2 separate regions of the Homo sapiens genome follow, and region 1 is linked to region 2. Evidence: promoter capture Hi-C in 16 types of primary human blood cells and fetal thymus (Javierre and others, 2016). All regions are on one chromosome and are shown on one strand. The core of a region is centred on a gene start or on the middle of the fragment in contact, and the rest is flanking DNA. Distances in the headings are between cores, read along the strand shown. Region 1 holds the start of AGAP2-AS1 (AGAP2 antisense RNA 1). Region 2 holds the start of DTX3 (deltex E3 ubiquitin ligase 3).

What was found. Contacts are between HindIII fragments. The CHiCAGO score rates a contact against its expected background, and 5 or more counts as called.
Region 1: the fragment with the promoter of AGAP2-AS1 here is called in contact with the fragment with the promoter of DTX3 in region 2 in 1 of 17 cell types (M1 macrophages); the score reaches 6.0 in M1 macrophages.

What each region holds. Positions count from the first base shown.
Region 1 is chr12:57,723,277-57,727,639 of GRCh38, forward strand. It overlaps AGAP2-AS1 (AGAP2 antisense RNA 1), which reads left to right and starts at 2,964. Exons shown (of 2, transcript NR_027032.1): 1 at 2,964-3,102; 2 at 3,689-4,363. It overlaps AGAP2 (ArfGAP with GTPase domain, ankyrin repeat and PH domain 2), which reads right to left. Exons shown (of 19, transcript NM_001122772.3): 17 at 4,084-4,306; 18 at 3,698-3,953; 19 at 1,921-3,518. The coding sequence ends at 3,276. RefSeq lists enhancers at 3,546-4,181, 4,182-4,363. The HindIII fragment of the contact is 18,142 bases long and covers 1-4,363 here.
Region 2 is chr12:57,601,917-57,606,871 of GRCh38, forward strand. It overlaps DTX3 (deltex E3 ubiquitin ligase 3), which reads left to right and starts at 2,908. Exons shown (of 7, transcript NM_178502.4): 1 at 2,908-2,942; 2 at 3,655-3,815; 3 at 4,274-4,336; 4 at 4,527-4,602; 5 at 4,949-4,955. The coding sequence starts at 4,602. PIP4K2C (phosphatidylinositol-5-phosphate 4-kinase type 2 gamma) reads left to right here. Exons shown (of 10, transcript NM_024779.5): 10 at 1-1,502. RefSeq lists enhancers at 2,278-2,789, 2,790-3,302. The HindIII fragment of the contact is 28,357 bases long and covers 1-4,955 here.

The DNA.
Region 1 (4,363 bases), core at 1,714-4,213, 120 kb after region 2:
AGGGCTGTGCTTTGATTTGCTGGGGATGGAGTCTCAGCATCACCAGAAAGCAGAGTTCTGGAAATCTCACTCTGTTAATCATTTTGTACTTTCAATCGAAATTCCTTTTTCCTTTCCTTTGGCTTTTGGCGGCAGCACTCCCATGGTGAAGGTCGGTCTGCCCCAGCTGTGCTAAGACAAACAAAAGGAGGGGAGCAGGGTGTGGCAGATGGCAGCCAGCAGGGCTGCAGGGAGGGCTGGCGGATGGCAATAGGGCATCCTGCATGGCAGGGCATCCAAGCAAGGCAGCCCAGGGTGAGCTGTGAAGGGGGCATGGGCACAAAGGGGCAGCAGCTCTCCTTCACCCACCCAGGGAGTCCCCTTCTGGGCTCCTATTTTGTCATAACCTGGAGGGCTTGATATTTTGTCATTCCATCCACTACCACCCTTTACATCTCCCCCGCAAGACCAAAGACACTCCCCATTAAGACAAGAGGCAAGTGGATTACTTGGTGTTGGGATTTGTTGTGAGGTTTGCTGACACCTTGACCATTTTTCACTGGCTGGAAATGAAAGGAACTTCCCACTTGCTCTTTGAAGGCAATTTCATTCTCTCCAGGGTCCTTATTTCCTTCCCATATTCTCTCACACTCCCAAACTTCTGAAGAAGGGAGCAAACTTTGGCCACGAGGAAGGAGTGGAGCTGAAATAAGAGAGTCCAGGGTCTTGGAGGTGAAGGGGGAACGGCCAGGTCCTCTAGTCCAATCTTCTTTGCTACCTCCCCCCTCTTGTCGCTTTGCCCAGACCACACACCTGCCTCTGTACTTGTCACTGCACCTGCACTGTTGAATCCACCTTTCCTGGGTCACGCCGCTGTGCTGGGTGGTCACAGCCTAGGACCCTGTAGAGCCGCAGCCTCCATGTGAACTGGATTCAGGTCTGGTGCTGTGTCCTCAGTTCAGTGGCACACTTGCAGCTGAACCTCTTGGGGCTGGTGGGCACCAAGGGTCAGAAGCAATTCTACCCAAAGATGCTGGTGCTACCAACTAACTCCTCAAGGTAGATAACAACATATGGCTGTGCCCAACCTGCACTGGCTGCTGACCCAACCCTACCCTGTCCAGCCCCTCTACCTGAGTAAACACTTTCAGCTGCCCTCGAGAAATGGTAGGATTGGCTATGTGCTGAGCCTAGTGGCACTGCAGCTCATGGAGGCAGCACCGGCTTCAGGCCGCTGTGGCCTTGGTGGTCCCTTTGATGGCACGGAGGTGGATAAATGCCTGCATCAGCTGACACTGAGTTTGTGGACACCAGGGACCTCTGCAGCTAGCTGGGAAATCTTTCCCAGGAGGTCTCCCACCCCTTCCCTCTGGAACACCCCCTGACGAGGCCAGGGGAGGAACCCCTACTCTATGTTCTACTCTGGTACCTAGTGCTCACGGTGAGCAGGCTGGCTCGGGGCAGCCCTCCTCAGAGCTGGAGCGCCTTTCAGGTGCCCTCTGAACAGATACTGTTCAGAATACAGATAAACAGATGCCACCAAGGTCCCCTAGCTGTGCAGTGGAGGGGCAGGTTTCAAAATCAGATCTGTCTCCAAAGTTCCTGCTCTTAAACAAAGCTGTCCCATCTTCCCACCCCTCTCCATGGGCCTGTCCTCTCCTCTAAGTACCATATCCCAACTCTCCCAGGACTGGCATCATCTTAAGAGTCAGTGCCTTCTCTGTTCCCAGGGTCCCCACTGACTCCAACCTGCCCACGTCCTCCACTACATGAACCCAGAACTGTTGTACATGATGGAACCACCTCCATGCCCATGGGTACTGTCCTGCCACCAGCCCCAGTGGGAGGCACCTCTGCCTGTCCCTGTCCAACCCCAGTACCCCATCTTGACCAAGGCCATGCCCTGACCTGCCTCCAAGAACAGACCAGCAGCTCACCCCCTAGACAAAATCACTTCCTCTTTAATTGCTGTTGAAGAAGATTCACACCACTGCCTCCAAGGAGATGGGGGGGCATTTCCCCCTTGCCCCCACCTCTCTCCCCTCCCCAATTACCTGGTCCTTTGCAAACTATTTTAGCCAGAAAAAAAAAAAAAAAAAAAGACCGGAAACCACTGACACAGACAGCCCAAGGGCTGGGTTGGCTGAGGGAGGCAGGGCTGGGCCAGGTAAGTCCGCCCTATCACCCAGTTTGTGGGGAAGGGGCAGGGGGCCTGGAAACCCTCCCAGCCACCTCGAATCCTCTCAGCCCTGGCTGGGAGAGGTCACGGGGGTGAGGAATGGCTCTGGAGCTGCTCCAGTGGGAGGGAGGGGCTGGACAGAAAGAATAATGGGGGAGGGGTCCCACTGTAGGGGTGCCCCCTACCCCAGATCACCACGGGCGCTGCACAGTCACAGGTACGCAGTCACGGTCACAGACACAACCCGAGAGCACCCCCACCCCAACCCACCCCCTGCCCACCCTGGGCTTCCCCTACCCCAAAACGCCCTCCCCACGCCCCTGCCCGCCCCCATCCCCATGTTGGGGAACAAAGCAATAAATTACAAGGCCCCCGCAGCCCTCTTAGCCCGCTCCTGCTCCATCCCTTCTCCCTCCCAAGATAGTAGTGGGAGGGACCCAGGCTCTTGGTTCCCCCCGGACTCTTTAGCTTCCACCCATGGGTAGGTGTAGGGGACGTCCTGGTTTCCACTACTCACGGTCCCTTTCACGGAAAGGGTTGGGAACCCCCACCCCCATGAGCAGCAGGGGTCCTGCCCCTCGCTGCCCTTGCCCCCTTCACTGGGCAGTGAGATGAGCATGGAAGGGGTAGGGTTTCCGTATTGGCCCCAAGTCCCGGGGCTAGCCCTCCCATGTACTAAACCCTCCCTCTGGCGTGGCGTCGCCCCAGGAGCCAGCCTGGGTATGGGCTCCCGCCCTGGGATTGTTGAGCTCGGGCAGGACCGGGTCTTCTTTCCGCCCCTAGGGGGCACAAGCGGGCATGTCCAAGCGCCTAGGAGCCCGTACCGCTGGGGACCTCCCCTTCCGCGAACCCCGAGCGGGTAGACCCAGAGCAATCCGAGTGTGGAAACAATGGAGAGGGGGCGTGTTGAGCTGGGGTCTCCATGCCTCGTTGGGGAGAGGGAGGTGAGTTTGTGTCTTCTGGAAGGCGTGGGGGCTGTGCCCTCGTGGGGGTAGGAAGTGCTCCCGTGGGGCGGGGTGCGGATCGGAGAGGTGAGTGGGTGCGTCTGTCCAGCGGTCCGCCCGGTGTGGTCGTGCCCGGCCCGCGTGGGGATGGGGGTGTCTCTCCCGCTGGGCAACTATACCAGCGCAACCGGGGCGTCGGCGCGGCCCACGCTAGCGGCGCTGCTCCGGCGGCGGGGGCTGGGCGTGGCGGTGATGCTGGGCGTGGTGGCCGCGCTGGGCGTGGTGGCCGCGCTGCCGCCCTCACCCGGGCAGCCGTGCTGGAGAAGGATGTCGGCGCACAGCTGGCTTCCAGCCTGGCGGGCGTAGAACAGCGCCGTGCGGCCCTGGGCGTCACGGGCCGCCACGTCCGCGCCGTACTAGAGGGCGGAAACGGCCGCGTGACCGCGCGTCCCCAGGGCGCCCACACCCGGCGCCGCCTCCCCCACATGGCCAAGCCTACTTCCGGGGTCCCTCTGGGAATTTCGGGCTTTCCCGCGCCAGGCGTTTTCCGAGATGAAGCCTCAAAGACCCCCTTTCCTCCCCCCAGCTCACGTACCCACAGCAGCAGTTGCGTGATGACGACGTGGGCGAGCTCGGCCGCCAGGTGGAGTGGGGAGCGCAGCTGTGGGTCCTCTACGCTGGTGTCGAGCGGCCCGTGTCGCGCATGGGCCAAAAGCAGGAGAACGGTAGCCACGTCCTGGGCCTGCACGGCGGCCCACAGCTGGCGGCCCAGCGGCTCCTCCGAGGTGCTCAGCGGCGCCAGGAACAGTAGCTGCTCGTACTTGGCGCGAATCCACGACTCGCGCTCCTCCCTGCAAGACCAGGGATCAACGGAAAAGGCTCTAGGGACCCCCAGCCAGGACTTCTGCCCCTACCCACGGGACCGTCTCAGGTTCGCACACCCTCAGCAACCCTCCCCCCGCTCTGTTCCCTCACGCTTACCGCGAAGAGTCCCGCGAGGGCTTGGCACGGCCTCGCGTGTCGCTTTCCCACACGCGGTTGGCCGTGTCGTTGCCAATAGCCGTCAGCACCAGGGTCAGCTCCCGTGGCCAGTCGTCCAAGTCCAGCGAGCGAACGCGGGACAGGTGTGTGCCCAGGTTGCGGTGGATGCCAGAACACTCGATGCAGATGAGGGCGCCCAGGTTCAAGCTGGCCCACGTGGGGTCTGCGGAAGGAGCGTAGAGGTCGGCTCCCAGCCGGGCAGCACAGGCACCCCGGCATT
Region 2 (4,955 bases), core at 1,658-4,157:
ATGATATAGGAGCTAGGGGAAGGGGGTTGTTTGCCTTCTTCAGGACCTGACTGGACAGATGGACCTGGCTCAAGCAACTACTCTGGATGCACTTTGCTGTGTGGGATGAACTAAAAGTGTCTGAATTTTGCTGATAACTTTATAAAACTCACTATGGCATGCTTCCCTCCTGGTGGGCCCTAGGATGGATGACACTCAAGATACTACAGATGTGGGTGCAGGCATGCACACACACGATGGAATATGGCCATTCCTACACAGGTGGGGTAGAGAGTGGGTCAGCAGCCTGGCACCTCACAGAGGTGGGACCTAAGAGGACTCATGATTATGCAGAGAATTGGATTGGGTCTCTGTCATAGATTGAGTAATCTCTTCCCTTACCTCAATTCCATCTCCACCCATCTCTACATCTGGGCACAGCAACCCAGAGATGGCCAAAAGCATTCAAGCCTGGGGGAAGATGTTTGACTATTGCTGCTCTTCACCAGAACCTCACACCTCTCCTGGGACTGGAACCCTTCAGTGGGTGTGTGGCCAGTTTTGGAGGCTGGAATGATGGGCCAGGGTGTAGGATTCATTCTCCATGTAAAGTTTCCTTTCATCCTGCCTAGCCATCCCCAAGGTTTATTTCCAGAAGAAAGGAATATCTCTACTTGGATCAATTCTGGTCATTTCAAGAGGATGGAGGCCTCAAGTGTGGGAACTTCCCCTACTCCCTGGATGTGTGTACCTAGCACACTTCCTTCTCCCACCCCTTTTTCCAGTTGGATTTGTTTTTCTGTTCTCTTCTGTCCTGTCTTATACTGCAACTGTGTCTCCTAGGGGACAGATGGCCTTCTTTGTCATCTTCACTCTCCACCCCCAGAGAGGAGTCAGAGCCATAACTCAATCACTCAGCCCCTCCAAAGATAGTTGATGTGTGATAATCTCATAATGTTGAGAACCCTGATGAGATACATTGTCTTCCTCTCCCTACAATGCCTCTGGGGCCAAGGCACCCATTCTTCTTGCTATCCTCCATCCCCCTTGAGGCTTCCACTTTTTTTTTTTTTAGACATAAAGCTGGGCATCAGCAACTGGCCTGTGGTGATGCAAAGCTGCTTTGCTCTGTATCTGGCTGGACTGATCTGTCTCACAAGAAGCCATGAGGCCATAGGGAGAAGCTCCCTCTCCCCTTCATCTTCTGCTCCAAAGGTGGTAGCAAGAGGAGTACCCAGTTAGGGGTTGGAGCCCCCATATAACATCTTCCTGTCAGAAGACTGATGGATCTTTTTCATTCCAACCATCTCCCTTTCCCCCGATGAATGCAATAAAACTCTGTGACACCAGCAACCATTGCTCTTTAGAAATGGGTTTTCTGATCATATGGCTGATGTGTTATGGGCAGTATGGATGTCTTCATTTGTTGCTTCTGTTTTTCATCTTTTTTGTTTTATTAATAAAAATTTATGTATTTGCTCCTGTTACTATAATAATACAGGGAATAAATTATTCAATCCAAATTTCTGTACAGAAATGCCTTTTTTTTTTTTTTTTTAAATTTCACTTCTCTCAGGGAGCCTGTGTTTAAGGGTGCAGAGACCAGCTGAAGAATTCTGGTGTTCAAGGTGTTGGGCCCCTAACTAAGGATGTGGGTTTCTAGACAGATGGCTGTGAACTTTTTTAAAAAGGCTGTGAAGGGTGTGCACGGGAATGGAAAACTTAGTCTTTAACCTTGTGGGAGGTCAGCGGTAGTGAGGGCCAGGGAAGAGTAGGGTGATGGGACCCTTCCTCTTCCCAGAGTTCTGGGCTTGCTAACACTCCATCTTTGTAAAGGTGAGTAGGCCTCTCAGCCCACCAGCTAAAAGAAAAGGAATCTAGTATTCCCCCAGGCTTCCTGGGAAAGCTGTCCTCTTCCTGGAGGGAAGGAAGAGTACAGCAGGGTCCTGGGAAAGTGAAGAAAGTGACTAGCCCTCCAGTCTAGAGGGGGGAGTGAAAAAGGGGTGGATGAATAGAGGTTGTTGCCAGTTTGGGAGATTCCTGCCTGTCTTGGCTGAGGAAGTCTTTTGGCTGGTGGAAAAACCTGGCTTGATGTGGCCCCAGGGAAGTGAGTTGGATTGGGCGGAGACTGCTTGATGTGGGAAGCAGAGCAGAGCTTTTTTTTTTTCTTCTTTGAGAGTTTTTAACTCTATTTGAACCATACACTTGACACCACCACCACCTCGAGCCACTTTTTAAAAAATGTATTCGCTTCCCATTCTGCACCAGCCTCCATATCCCTGTTTGTGGAAAGAAAAATCAGAGGCACTGACCAATGATCATCTGAGAGCAGGTTGTGGGGGTCATAGGAGGTAACAATCTAGAAAGAGGCAGGAGATGAGGGAGGGGATTGAAATAGTTTAGTACCCGGATTTGTTTATTTTTTAGAGCCAATGCTTTTCTTTTTACTATGACTCTTCCCATCCCACATTGTTCCTCAAAGGCCCTTCTACCATAAGGATTCAAAAAATTGCCGCCCTCCCCCCGAATCCCCATATACCCACCAACACTTCACCCACCCATCCACCACCAGCTCCTGGGAGCTGCTACGCAGCTGGCTGGGAAAGAAAAGGGAGAGTGCTCCGCCGGGAGCGGGGAGCGAGTAGGGTGGCGTCTCCAGGGATTTAACCTCCTACCCTCAGTTCCATGACGCCACCCCCTCCCTCCAAAGACTGGGACAGCGCCTCCATTTTTGTTTTGGGGAGGAAGGGCAGGGGCTTGCGGATAGAAGGGGGTCAAAGGAACGGTGATTATCACCTGTGAGGGGAAAGGGGGTGCTGTCCTCCCTCCTTCCCTTTTCCTCAGCCTGCACCCCCTGCAATCCCCCACCTTTCGGGGTCTCCCCCTCCTTGTTGCTAAGGCCCGGACCGTCATCCCAGCAACAGCCTCAGTCATGTGACCGGCAATGGCGGCGCTGACGAGAGGTAGGTGAGCCCGGCGCCCCCCACACCCACCGCGCGCCCCCCGGGCCCCGCTCGCACCCCTCACGCGCCCCCCGCTCCCCCGGCGCCCCCTCCTCCACCTCCCCTCCCCGCGCGCGGCTCCGGGCTCCCCGCTCCGTGCCCGGCCGATCATCTTTCTAGCACCCTCCAGCCTTGGCCTCCATTCGGGGGTTCTGAGGGCTGCGATCGGGCCGACATGCACCCCCACCCGGCGGTGGGGATCCGGGGGCTTTGGCTACTGAGGGATGTGGGGAGTTGGTTCCGGGTCGGGTCTTGGAGGAGGCCGTGGGGGGAGGGCGGGAGCTGCTTCAGTGGATGCCCCCAGGGACCCTTGCCCATCCGGGCTGTGCCTCCCTCTGGCCTCTGTCTGGAGGGAGAGACTGGTTCCTTGTCCGGCCTGGGTTGCCACAGAGGAATCACAGACCCACCCTAAACTGGGGCCCCGCCTCCCTTTTCTGTGCCAGCAGGACTTGGACCTAGGACACCTAGGTCCTGGGTCCCCCGTGATGGGGAGAGAAGTGTTGCATCGCGGATAGACTGTATGGGCTGAGACTCTAGGGTTCCATTTTCACTTATGAATCTCGAGGTGCATCTGGCCTTGGGGGACGATGATGGAGGCATGAAGGGACAGCTGCTCCTTCTTGGATCAGTCAATAAATGGAGGTCACACTAATGGCCCTTCTTTCTGTTTGAGCTGCATTTGGAAGTGTTGTGGAGACAGCCCCGTAGCCCAATGCGACCAGACTCAGGGAAAACATCAGGCCCCTCCAGCTGAGCCCTTGTGTGAGCCCCGCCCCTCCCTAAATGCCAGACTTGGGAGCTGACAGACAGCACTGCCTGTGCTGGGTTTAAAAGGTGACAATGAGAACTTTGTTATTGCAGGGGCTGCTGCCACTTTGTTCACATCCTTAACAGACTTCAGCAGAAGGGACTGAGTTAGCTCTCAAGGAAGGCTCCCTGGCAATAGGGGCTGAATTATTTGGCAATGTGGAGCAGGCGAGGAGTTGGGGAGCATAGGAAATATTCCGGTCCATGTGATCTGAGGGAGGTGGCAAGAAGACCTCCACCTGTGTGGGCGTTTTCTTTCCTGACTTCTCTTATGTGTGCCCTAGGCTTTCTTGGGGGCCTCAGAGCTGGGGAAGAAAGGAGGAAGGTTAGCATGTTGAAGTTCCTTCTTGAGCAACTTGGGGAGAAGCTGATAATGGAATTCTGCAGAGAAGAGAGGAGATGGAAGGGGAGTTTTTATTTCTGGGTTGGCTGAGGGGAATGGTAACATTTGCCATCATAACTTTTTACCCTTCCCCCACTCCCAGTCCTGGTCAGCTGAGTGGAAATAGAAGGATTTCTGCTGCCATCATCTTCCATGGGCTTTCCAGGTATCTCCCCCGCAAGGGATCCTCAATTTTCACCCTTAAACTGGTTTCCTTCATTCCATGTTCCAAGTAATGCCATTCTTAGTAACCTATACCCAGGTTTCTGTCTCTGTTCCATGGGCTGCTGGGTTGGGGGCCATGGGAATTGGGAGAAGGGGTTTCTCACTTTCCTTCCATTTTTCCGCCCTACCAGGTCACACGACCTACAAGTAGGGAGCAGGGAAAGAAGAGTGAGCCTGCATGCCAATTCTAAGCTCTTCAGGATCAAAGTAAGCAAAAAGGAGGGGCAAAGAGTCTCCCTCCCCTTTAAACAGCCCATTTTTCCCCAAGAGGTGGGAGGGGCAAGTTGTTTCTATGATCTGGGAGAAATGACAGGAGAAACAAGACTGATACTTGGCTTAGATGATAATATAGCTCTGGAAACTTTTTTGCTCTTCAGTGGGTTTTGGGTTTGGAAGATAAGGGGAGACAGAATATGAATTTGGGTGAAGGGTTGGGGATTAGGCTTTGAGAAAACAGAGGTAATAGAGGGTTTGGAAGGAACCTGAAGTAGGAGGCACTGATACTTGTCAAATGGGGACCCCCCACCCTGAGTCCCTTTCACCCTGGGGGCAGTGTCGTT